2 separate regions of the Homo sapiens genome follow, and region 2 is linked to region 1. Evidence: promoter capture Hi-C in human tissues and cell types (Jung and others, 2019). All regions are on one chromosome and are shown on one strand. The core of a region is centred on a gene start or on the middle of the fragment in contact, and the rest is flanking DNA. Distances in the headings are between cores, read along the strand shown. Region 1 holds the start of WDR53 (WD repeat domain 53). Region 2 holds the start of TFRC (transferrin receptor).

Region 1 (5,167 bases), core at 1,001-3,500:
GGAGGCGGAGGTTGCAGTGAGCTGAGATCCCGCCACTGCACTCCAGCCTGGGTGACAGAGCGAGACTCCGTCTCAAAAAAAAAAAAAAAAAGAAAAAAGAAAAGAGAAACAACTTGATAGTTTACATATTTAATGGCAATGTTCCCTATCTTCTATAACTAAAACCGGTTTTACTACATAAGTATAAATTTTACATGCTTCACATGAAAAAAAAATTTTTACTTCTTACTCCGACCCCTGTTGGCAAGCTAGCATTAAAAAGGGGGTGTTATCGCGCGGTGGCTCACGCCTCTAATCCCAGCACTCTGGGAGGCCGAGGAGGGCGGATCACCTGAGGTCGGGAGTTCGAGGCCAGCCTAACCAACAAGAAGAAACCACAACTCTACTAAAAATACAAAATTAGCCGGGCATGGTGGCGCATGCCTGTAATCCCAGCTACTCGGGAGGCTGAGGCAAGACAATTGCTTGAACCTGGAAGGCGGAGGTTGCGGTGAGCCGAGATCACGCCATTGCACTCCGTCTCAAAAAAAAAAAAAAAGGGGGGGATGTTATCGTTTTAGTTACTAATGCATTCATTATGTTTAACACATTGCAATCAGACTTTATCTTCTCTTATATATGATCTTGATTGACTGCTATACTGAATAGCTGTTAACCATTCAACTCAACTCAAGACCAAGACCCTTTGTTTATTCGGCCTGAGAGTCCTTTCAGCCGTACCACAACTTGTTCCTTGACATTTTTATTTTGTATATGAAGGCGGGCGGAATATGCAGGAAGGATGCAGCGAAACTGTAATCAGCACGTTAGATGACAAATAGAAAAAGAGAGACACCATCAATGTGGAACTATTAAAAAGTTAGCAAGGAAACAGCCAATAACAGCAGGACAAAGCAGTATGTTAGGTGGTGCCCGTGGACGTTCTATAAAAGCCTGTATCTTGTAAGTGAGCAGGATGACTAGAACTACACTCACTTGTAAGCCTCCAATATAGTGGAGGGAACTAAAGAGAACTTGGGGGAAAATAATGAAAACAAATGGTTAAAAATCAGAGCTTGGAAAAGATGAGATAAACGTGGAGTGAAAGCAAACTAGAAACTTAGAAACTTAGAAACTAAGCCCATGTTAAGGTGGCCGGGATTATTTAATATAATGAAGTCTATCTGGAGGCCGGGGAGAAAAGTAGGATGAGGGCATTAAAAGGTACAAGAGTGGTGGTCTGTCTTTAACGGGGAAAACTGTCAAAAGTTGAATGAGTGAGGCAAACTACCTAGTTGTTTGAAAAGTGGATCACGGAAGTGGGATGGGTTAAGGAGCAGAACTTCGATCCAAAGAAAAGAGAATCTTTATCTTGGGGGGAGGTGAGGAAGATACTGACTGGAGCCGTGGAAAGGCGGGCTGGTGAGGCGAAGCTTCTGACTCAGAAGCTCGGATGAGAAACACCGCGAACGACGCCGGGGAGCGGGACTGGGGGCAGCGGTGTGGCCCGGGGCTCTCTCACCTTGGCCTTGTAGCTGGGCAGGTTGCACAGGATGTCCGTGCGCAGAGCCTCTTCTGCCAGGCTGCGGGCGCACAGGCTCCGCCACACCTCGCTGTTCTCATCGCCGTGCAGGCAGCGGTACCAGTGCTTGCACACCAGGGCGCAGCTCCGCAGCTCGGACAGCTCCAGGTAAGAGAACACCAACTCCAGCACCCGGCTGGGCAGCCGGCCCCCGGCCCCCGCGGCCCCAGAGCCCGAGCCCGCGCCCGCGCCCGCGCCGCCGCCGCTACAGCCAGCGCCGCCCGAGGCTGCCCCAGCCCCCGGGGCCGGCGCCGCCATCGCCTCACCAGCCGGCCCTAGGGCCGCCGCTGCCGCCGCCGCTTCCCGCCGTCTCTGCTCGGAAGGCCAAGCCTCGCCCGGAGACCGGAGCGGCTCGCTCACCGCCCCTGTCAGTGCCAACCGCCGGCGCCTCCACCACTCCCGCCCCTGCCCGGGGGCGTCCGCCGCGCGCCCCGCCTCACTGAGGGCAGACGCACCGGCTGCAGGGGCGTCCTCCGCCCCTCCTCCGCGGCTCAGCGCGGGCGCCGAAACCGCCCGACTCGCCCGGCCTCTCCGCGGCGCGCCAGCGGCTCCGCCATGCGGGTTGAGGGCACGAAGCAAGGGCGCACGCCCAGCTCGTTCGCGGTTCCTCTCGGCCCCGGATGTGACTGTTTGGCTGCGCCGCCTCACGCCTGACGCTCGACGGGATTGGGCGCCGGCGGGTGAGGTTATCACTAGGCGCCGAGGAGGGGAGCGGGAAGCGCAGGTATGAGGCTGGCGCCGGTGGCTTCGATGCTGCTTTCCGGTGACTTCGATGCTGTTTTCCAGTGCTTTTTCCTTTTTCTGGTCTGGTGGCTCCGCGTCTGCTCTCCTGGGCTCCCTTTCCTGTGACGTTTCCCTGTGTCCGTTAGGTCCTTGCTTCAGACTCCAGCTCAACGCATGAAACTTTTCTCTCCTTGCTTGCCGGGTCCTGGCTCCCCAACCTTTTTGTGTAGCTTGGGCAGCGGAGGCCGTCTTTACCTGGTCAGGCCCTCTCGTTCTCCCTAAGTATCGGCACTTAGCGAACGTCTGTCCCTGTGTGCCTTCGCAAAGTAAGGTGGCTGCGACTGAACACCCCCTCGCCCAAACGTTCGAGTGCCATTTGAGCGCTAATTAAGTGCTGCCGTCTTTTGGACAAGATGTGGTCTTTACTGGATCCACCGCTTAGTAAGCAGATGAAGGCAATGTAGTTTTAGTCAATTAAACATTCCAATAGGGAGAATGACGTGGAGGCTATAATTATAGATGGATTCTTGGAAGGGGAAGAATTTCAGCATCCCAGCTTGGGCAACATTGCGAGGCAGTGTCGCTACAAAAAAATAGAAAAATTAGCCGAGGGTGGTGGCGTGCGCCTCTGGTCCCAGCTACTTGGGAGGCTGAGCCCGGGAGGTCGAGGCTGAGGTGAACCGTAATCGCCCTGCTGTGCTCCAGCCTGGGCGACAGAGTGAGCCCCTACCTCACACACACACACACACACACACACACACACACACAAGAATTTCAGCATTATTTGATTATACTACGATTTCCTAGGTGGCCCCAAAGTTTTCCGACAGCCTTTAAAGCATGCTTAGTAAGAGAATAATAATAACCATCATTTGAGCCACGGTGTGAACCAGGCACTGTATACTACGTCATTTACGCAGATTTTTATATACGTAATCCTCAAAACAACTCCATGAGCTGAGTAATTAAAATAATAGGGTTCACAGACTCCCTTGGTCAACTCCAATGTCTTGGAACCTTTATGTAGTAAGAAATCTTTTCTGAAGCTTCTTGCTATGTATAATCCATTTCTTAGTCTCTAGTAAAAGCAAAGGAACGGTGGCTACCTTCCCTACCCTCTGATTCATGGTGTTTGATTATTATTTGCCTGTCCCTTCTCCTCATGTCTTTTTCACCAAGTCCAGTAACCCTAATTCTTTTCATTCTTACCAGTGCCAGCGCCACAGCCCTTCAATCATTTTGGTTGCTATCCAGCTTCTCCACATCAAGTCCAACTTCAGAAACCCCAAGCCTGTAGAGAAAAGTTGACCTGTGCTGACTCTGGTGATGGTGACTGTCTCTCACTAATTTCTTTGAAGTCTTCAAGGATAAGCAGAGTTGATCCATCTGAGAAAGGGATCATGAACTAGACAGAATGAACAGCCTTAGAGGCACAGACTCTTGAACGGGACGGTGGTGGTATGACTAGTGCAGAGTGTTTAGAGATCACTCAGTTTTTAAAGACTGGCCTTTATCGTGTCTCAGTGCAGCCGAGGCAGAGCCTTTGAAGGATGCGATGTTGTCATTCTTACTAATCTAGTCCAGCCGCTGAGGTGACTTTCAACGGCAGACCGTCTCCTGAGCGCCCCAGGTAGAATTTCAAAGTAAGATTACCCTTCTCAACCCCTCCTTTTCTTTTTTACAAATCTTTCACCTGCTCATCACCCACCCCACCAAGCCCCTTCCCCATGTTCAGTACTCTCATTCTGCGCTCTGGCTGATGAGAACTGCCGGCTGTGGCACTTCACCCTTTTAAAAAATGCTCTCGGCCGGGTGCCGTGGCTCACGCCTGGAATCCCAGCACTTTGGGAGGCCGAAGCGGGCGGATCACCTGCAGTCAGGAGTTTGAGACCAGCCTGGCCAACATGGTGAAACCCCATCTCTACCAAACATACAAAAATTAACCGGGCGTGGTGGTGCATGCCTGTAGTTCCAGCTACTCAGGAGGCTGAGGCACAAGAATCGCTTGAACCTGGGAGACGGAGGTTGCAGTGAGCCGAGATTGCACCATTGCACTCCAGCCTGGGCGACGAGAGCGAAACTCTGTCTCAAAAAAAAAAAAAAGAAAAAAATGCTCTCAAAATAACTCACCTGGCAGGGCACAGTGGCTCATGCCTGTAATCCCAGCACTTTGGGAGGCCGAGGTGGGTGGATTGCTTGAGCTCAGGAGTTAGACCAGCTTGGGCAACATGGTGAAATCCTGTCTCTACAAAAAATAAGATAATTAGCTGGGCGTGGTGGTGCATGCCTGTAATCCCAGCTACTTGGGAGACTGAGGTGGGAGGATTACTTGAGCCCCGAAGGTGGAAGTTGCAGTGAGCAGAGATTGGGCCACTACACTCCAGTATGGGTAACAGAGGGAGATACTGTCTCAAAAAAAAAACACAAGAAAAAACTCACCTTTCCCTCACCCACTCTGTGTGATTTCTTTAGGTATTAGAAGGAAGTGATCTATTATCTAATTAAAGTAATTTACAGTAGGATATGATTAACTGCTGTGCTTAACGCTTTAGGCAACTCCATAGGAAAAGAGAAGCTTGTTGACTTGATACGTGAATGTGGGGATGGTGACACTTCACCTCTTTCTGCCAGGCTTTCCAGTTGCAGTCATAGAAAAGCAAGAAACAGTGGCTTGCCAACTCATTTCTGAAAAATTGTTTTGATTTAACCCAACTTTAATTACATTTTTTCCCACTACCCTTCTATCACAGCAATCTGATTAACTTTTTCATAGTGTTCTTTGGTGTGTTTCAAATAATAACAAATCATTTTAGTTTTATAGACTAAGTAAACAATTTTGGAGGCTCTAGTTGAATCGCTGATCAATAGTTTGCATAATAAATC
Region 2 (5,167 bases), core at 1,488-3,987, 490 kb after region 1:
CATGGAGAAACCCCGTCTCTATTAAAAATACAAAAAATTAGCCATGCGTGGTGGCACGTGCCTGTAATCCCAGCTACTCGGGAGGCTGAGGCAGGAGAATCGCTTGAACCCAGGTGGAGGTTGCATTGAGCCGAGATGGCGCCACTGCACTCCAGCCTGGGTGACAGAGTAAGACTGTTTAAAAATAAATAAATAAATAGTAAAAGTGTTAATAAGTGGACTTTAATTGCAGTGTCTATTAATACTAATAACAGCATAAAAATAAAAATATAATTGATAGCCTCTTTAGTGTCACGTTTATGGTTTTATTTTAGTGAATATAAATTTTTGAGATTTGAATTTTCATGTCCAAATGGTCCTGGCCTCTAAATGTCTCCTAAACATATTTTTCTTTCTTTTCTTTTCTTTCTTTCTTTCTTTTTTTTTTTTTTTTTTGAGACAGAGTCTTGCTCTGCTGCCCAGGCTGAAGGGCAGTGGTGTGATCTCAGCTCACTGCAGCCACCCCCCTCCCGGGTTCAAACGATTCTCCTGCCTCAGCCTCTGGAGTAGCTGGGACTACAGGTGTGCGCCACCACGCCAGACTAAATTTTGTATTTTTAGTTGTGATGGGGTTTTATCATGCTGGCCAGGCTGGTCTTGAACTCCTGACCTCAGAAGATCCACCTGCCTCAGTCTCCCAAAGTGTTGGGATTACAGGGATTAGCCATCGCATCTGGCCACCTAAACCTATGTCCTCCATGAGGCTATAAGATTTTCACCTGCAAATACCAGCATTGTTTGTTTCTTTTTAAAAGATACTTCAGTCAAGGAAAGGCAGAAAGCCAGGCATGTTAGCTCATGCCTATAATCCCAGCACTTTGGGAGACCGGAGGCAGGAGGATTGTTTGAGCCCAGGAGTTCAAGACTAGTCTGGGCTACATAGCAAACCCTGCGTCAAATTAAAAATAAAAAATAAATAGGCTGGGCATGGTGGCTCATGCCTGTTATCCCAACATTTTAGGAGGCCAAGGTGGGCAGATCACCTGAGGTCAGGAATTCGAGACAAGCCTGGCCAACATGATAAAATCCCGTCACTCCTCAAAATACAAAAATTAGCCTGGCATGGTGGCACACACCTGTAGTCCCAGCTACTTGGGAGGCTGAGGCAGGAGAATCGCTTGAATCCGGAGGCAGAGGTTGCAGTGAGCCCGAGATCATGCCACTGTACTCCAGCCAGGGTGACAGAGCAAGACACTGTCTTAAAAGTAAAAATAATAAAAATAAATAAAATTAATAATTAAAGAAATAAAGAAGGAACACCACAGGGGAGCAGGCCTGGTGTCTGAATGTTAAGGTAGGCCCTCTGTGGATGTGCATCCTTAACCTTTTCCTGATTAGATCATTAAAGGTGCAGCAATGCTCCTGCTCATATGACTTTTTTTTTTTTTTGAGATGGAATCTTGCTCTGTCGCCCAGGTTGGAGTGCAATGGCGCGATCTTGGCTCACTGCAACCTCCGCCTCTTGGGTTCAAGCGATTCTTCTGCCTCAGCCTCCTGAGTAGCTGGGATTACAGGCGCGTGCCACTATGCCTGGCTAATTTTTTTTGAAATTTTTTTAGTAGAGATGGGGTTTCACCATATTGGTCAGGCTGGTCTCGAACTCCAGACCTCGTGATCCGCTCACCTCGGCCTCCCAAAGTGTTAGGATTGCAGGCGTGAGCCACCGCGCCTGGCAACTCATATGACTTTTAAACACTTCTCTTTGGGGAGAGAGATTTTAGAGAATGGGAGTAAAGAGAAAGGCGGTGAGAATCCCAAGTACTTTCTCTATCTTAGAGCAGAAGAAATAAAGGGAAGAGTAAAAGCCCAAGGCCCAGAAACGGATTTGCTTCTTAAAGGGCTGTTCTGTGTCCCTACGGGCCTGAAGGTCAGTTTATGTGCAATGCTTTTTAAGGTATGGGTTGCTTTCTTGCATTGTAGCTACTACCTCCCTGGCCTGCTGGTTACTGACCAGAGGGAGGGAGAGGGTGTGATTGTTTGGAAAGAGTTTAAACAGTGACAAGAATTGAATTTTATTTATTTGTTATTCATTGCACAATCCAATAACAGCGATGGCAATGAAAACGAAAGTTAATCTACAATCCTATCACCCTATTAAGTCACTTGTTTCTATTTTCCCTTTTATTCCCTCATGCATTAAACATTACGCAAAGCACTCCGCTAGTCTTGGTTAAAGTGCAGCTTGTATACATTCTGAATAAAAATTTGCATTTTGCTTTTCTTTTCCTTTTTGTATTTCTGAGGCTGCAAAATACATCTTCACAAGAGTGGCTTTAATAGTTACCTAACATTCCATCCTGCACGTACATTTCAAGGCACTGCCGCAGTGCAATATCCAACATTTAAGCGTCAACGCCAACAGATTGGACCTAGCACTGCAGGGACTGGAGGTTGGTCAAGGTCAGGCGGAGGCTGCCAGGCTACCAGGGTGGAGGAAGGCGCCGAGGCAGAGGCCAGTGCGCCCATCGCGCGGCTCCTCGGGGCACCTGCTGCCTTGGCGCCTTTTCCCTTGGCCTTCGCCTCGCCCGCAGCGCCCTCCGCATAGGGCCCCGCCCGCTGCGCGCGCATCCCCGCCCCCCGGGCGATCTGTCAGAGCACCTCGCGAGCGTACGTGCCTCAGGAAGTGACGCACAGCCCCCCTGGGGGCCGGGGGCGGGGCCAGGCTATAAACCGCCGGTTAGGGGCCGCCATCCCCTCAGAGCGTCGGGATATCGGGTGGCGGCTCGGGACGGAGGACGCGCTAGTGTGAGTGCGGGCTTCTAGAACTACACCGACCCTCGTGTCCTCCCTTCATCCTGCGGGGCTGGCTGGAGCGGCCGCTCCGGTGCTGTCCAGCAGCCATAGGGAGCCGCACGGGGAGCGGGAAAGCGGTCGCGGCCCCAGGCGGGGCGGCCGGGATGGAGCGGGGCCGCGAGCCTGTGGGGAAGGGGCTGTGGCGGCGCCTCGAGCGGCTGCAGGTACACGGGGTCGGCGGCTGTGCGCAGAGGCGTCCCTGCGCCTCTCGTCCCTTCGCCTCTCGTCCCTTCCCTTCTCTCTGCCTTCTTGCCCGCCTCCTCGGTCACAGAGCGACGAATGACGAGACCAGGTGTACCCCCACTGTCGCTCTCAGCCCCGGGGACTTCGGGTCCTCGCCCTTGAAGGCCGCAGGCCCTAGTGCGCCGGCTCCGGGCTGCGGGTCCGGGAGCGCGGGCGCAGCCAAGGTGCAGCTGCGCGGCGTGCGGCGCCGGGGGAACACGTGGCTGCTCCAGGAAGTCGCCCCAGGGAACGGCTGGGATTCGTGGGTGACCTTGGGCTCCTAAACCTTCGGTTCCCCGGGCTCCGGGCGGGCCCCGTTCTCACTGCGGAAAGGGACAAAGCTGTCCCCGATTCGGTTACTAGCGTGTTACAGGCATTAATTAGATACGGGTTTCTGTAAACTTACCCTTCGGCTCTGGTACAACCTGATCTTGCCATGCTCTGCCTGTTCGCCTTGTGTGTGGATTCTGTTTTCTCAAGGCAGAATCCGACTGAACGCCGCAGGTGTTCACATTAAGAATATTGCTAGCAGTTCTCACTACAAGACGGGAGCCATAGGAGTGACTTATTTGTGAAAGATACTTGGAGATTAGCGGTGTGGTCAGAGGGCTGTGCTGGATTGATGGGCGCCGGAGAGGCCGATTGTGTCACATTCTGCTGGACAGTTCTTTTAAGGTTGGGAGGGTGGGTAAGAAAATACATTCTGATTCGGCTCTTTTCGGATAACGCTTTCCCTCTGCTTACTGCTTGTAGAGACCTCACTTACCCGGGGGACTGGATTCTGCAGCTTTTTCCATTTTCTTCCCCGTTGATAAGAGGATTAAAGTAGGAAATTGTATTTGGCTACCCCATGCTTATATGCTAAGCTTACTGTGAAAATTAAGGTTAGGCTGTCTAGAGTACTTGTGGACCCTGCTGGTTCCCCCCGCCCCCCGGCCCTGAATTTTGGGTTACAATATGCTTCTCAAGAAAACTCAGAGTTAAGATAATTTTTGTCATCGATTTTGCAAGGTTATATATAGCATAGCATCCTTCAATTTCCTTTGGATGTTCTTATCAAGTAATGGTGGCTGTAAACCTAGCCTGTGTTGAAGATTGTTAGATAGACAGCAGTTTGGCTAACTCCGCCCTAAGGCGAGGCAGTTACTTGCCTCTGATAATGTATTTAAATGTCATGGAGCAAGATTCCCAGCTAAACCTGAATCGATCACAATGCTAGTTAAAAATGACCCTCGGCTGGGCGCATTGGCTCCCGCCTGTAATCCCAGCACTTTGGGAGGCCAAGGCAGGCGGATCACCTAAGGTCAGGAGTTCGAGTCCAGTCTGACTAACATGGTGAAATCCTGTCTCTACTAAAAACACAAAAATTAGCCGGGCATGGTGGCTCACGTCTGTAATTCCAGCACTTTGGGAGGCCGAGGCAGGTGGATCACTTGTGGTGAGGAGTTCGAGACTAGCCTGGCCAACATGGTGAAACCCCGTCTCTACGAAAAATACAAAAATTAGCTGGGCATGGTGGTGCACACCTGTAATCCCAGCCACTCAGGAGGCTGAGGCTCGAGAGTCGCTTTAACCTGGGAGGCAGAGGTTGTAGTGAGCTGAGATCGTGCTACTGCACTCCAGCCTGCGCGACAGCGAGATGCCATCTCAAAAACAACAACAAAAAAACTCCCTACTAAACCAGAAGAGTGATGGGGACGGGAAAAGATTCCTGGTCCAATGTTTTCATTATATTTTTCATATCATTTGGAATCTCATGCATCAGGCATGCCCCAGTACTGTTAAAGACAATATTTTTACTCATTATCAGGTAGTTCAATACCAGTTATTACAGGATAGGGAAGTCAGTCAGAGAAGGCTTCATAGAGATGAAGCCTTGAGCTGAGCCTGGAAGAAATGAGGAGGACCTCAAGGAACAGAGAAGAATGTTGGTGGGTAAAAACAGGGGCTGGATTCTGTCTGATTTTGGAGAAAATAGAGGGTAGTGAAGTTGTTAGGCAGTGAATGTGTTCCATTTCATGGTTCAAAACGTGGGGCTACGTTTTGCCTACCTGAGCTTCATTATTAATGTGAGAAATTGAATTGTTGTTTTCAGTCACCATTGAGAACACCA

The links. The method cuts DNA at HindIII sites, captures the fragments that hold promoters and counts their contacts. A contact is called where the count stands out against the background at its distance.
Region 2: the fragment with the promoter of TFRC here is called in contact with the fragment with the promoter of WDR53 in region 1 in 1 of the 25 tissues and cell types used here (mesenchymal stem cells).

What each region holds. Positions count from the first base shown.
Region 1 is chr3:196,565,637-196,570,803 of GRCh38, reverse strand. It overlaps WDR53 (WD repeat domain 53), which reads left to right and starts at 2,250. Exons shown (of 4, transcript NM_182627.3): 1 at 2,250-2,285; 2 at 3,497-3,927. It overlaps FBXO45 (F-box protein 45), which reads right to left and starts at 2,144. Exons shown (of 3, transcript NM_001105573.2): 1 at 1,502-2,144. The coding sequence starts at 1,819. RefSeq lists enhancers at 1-342, 343-891, 2,909-4,108 and silencers at 1,232-1,526, 1,648-2,187. The HindIII fragment of the contact is 3,803 bases long and covers 293-4,095 here.
Region 2 is chr3:196,079,660-196,084,826 of GRCh38, reverse strand. TFRC (transferrin receptor) reads left to right here and starts at 2,737. Exons shown (of 19, transcript NM_001128148.3): 1 at 2,737-2,784. RefSeq lists silencers at 2,415-2,754, 2,805-3,104 and an enhancer at 3,986-4,485. The HindIII fragment of the contact is 11,516 bases long and covers 1-4,804 here.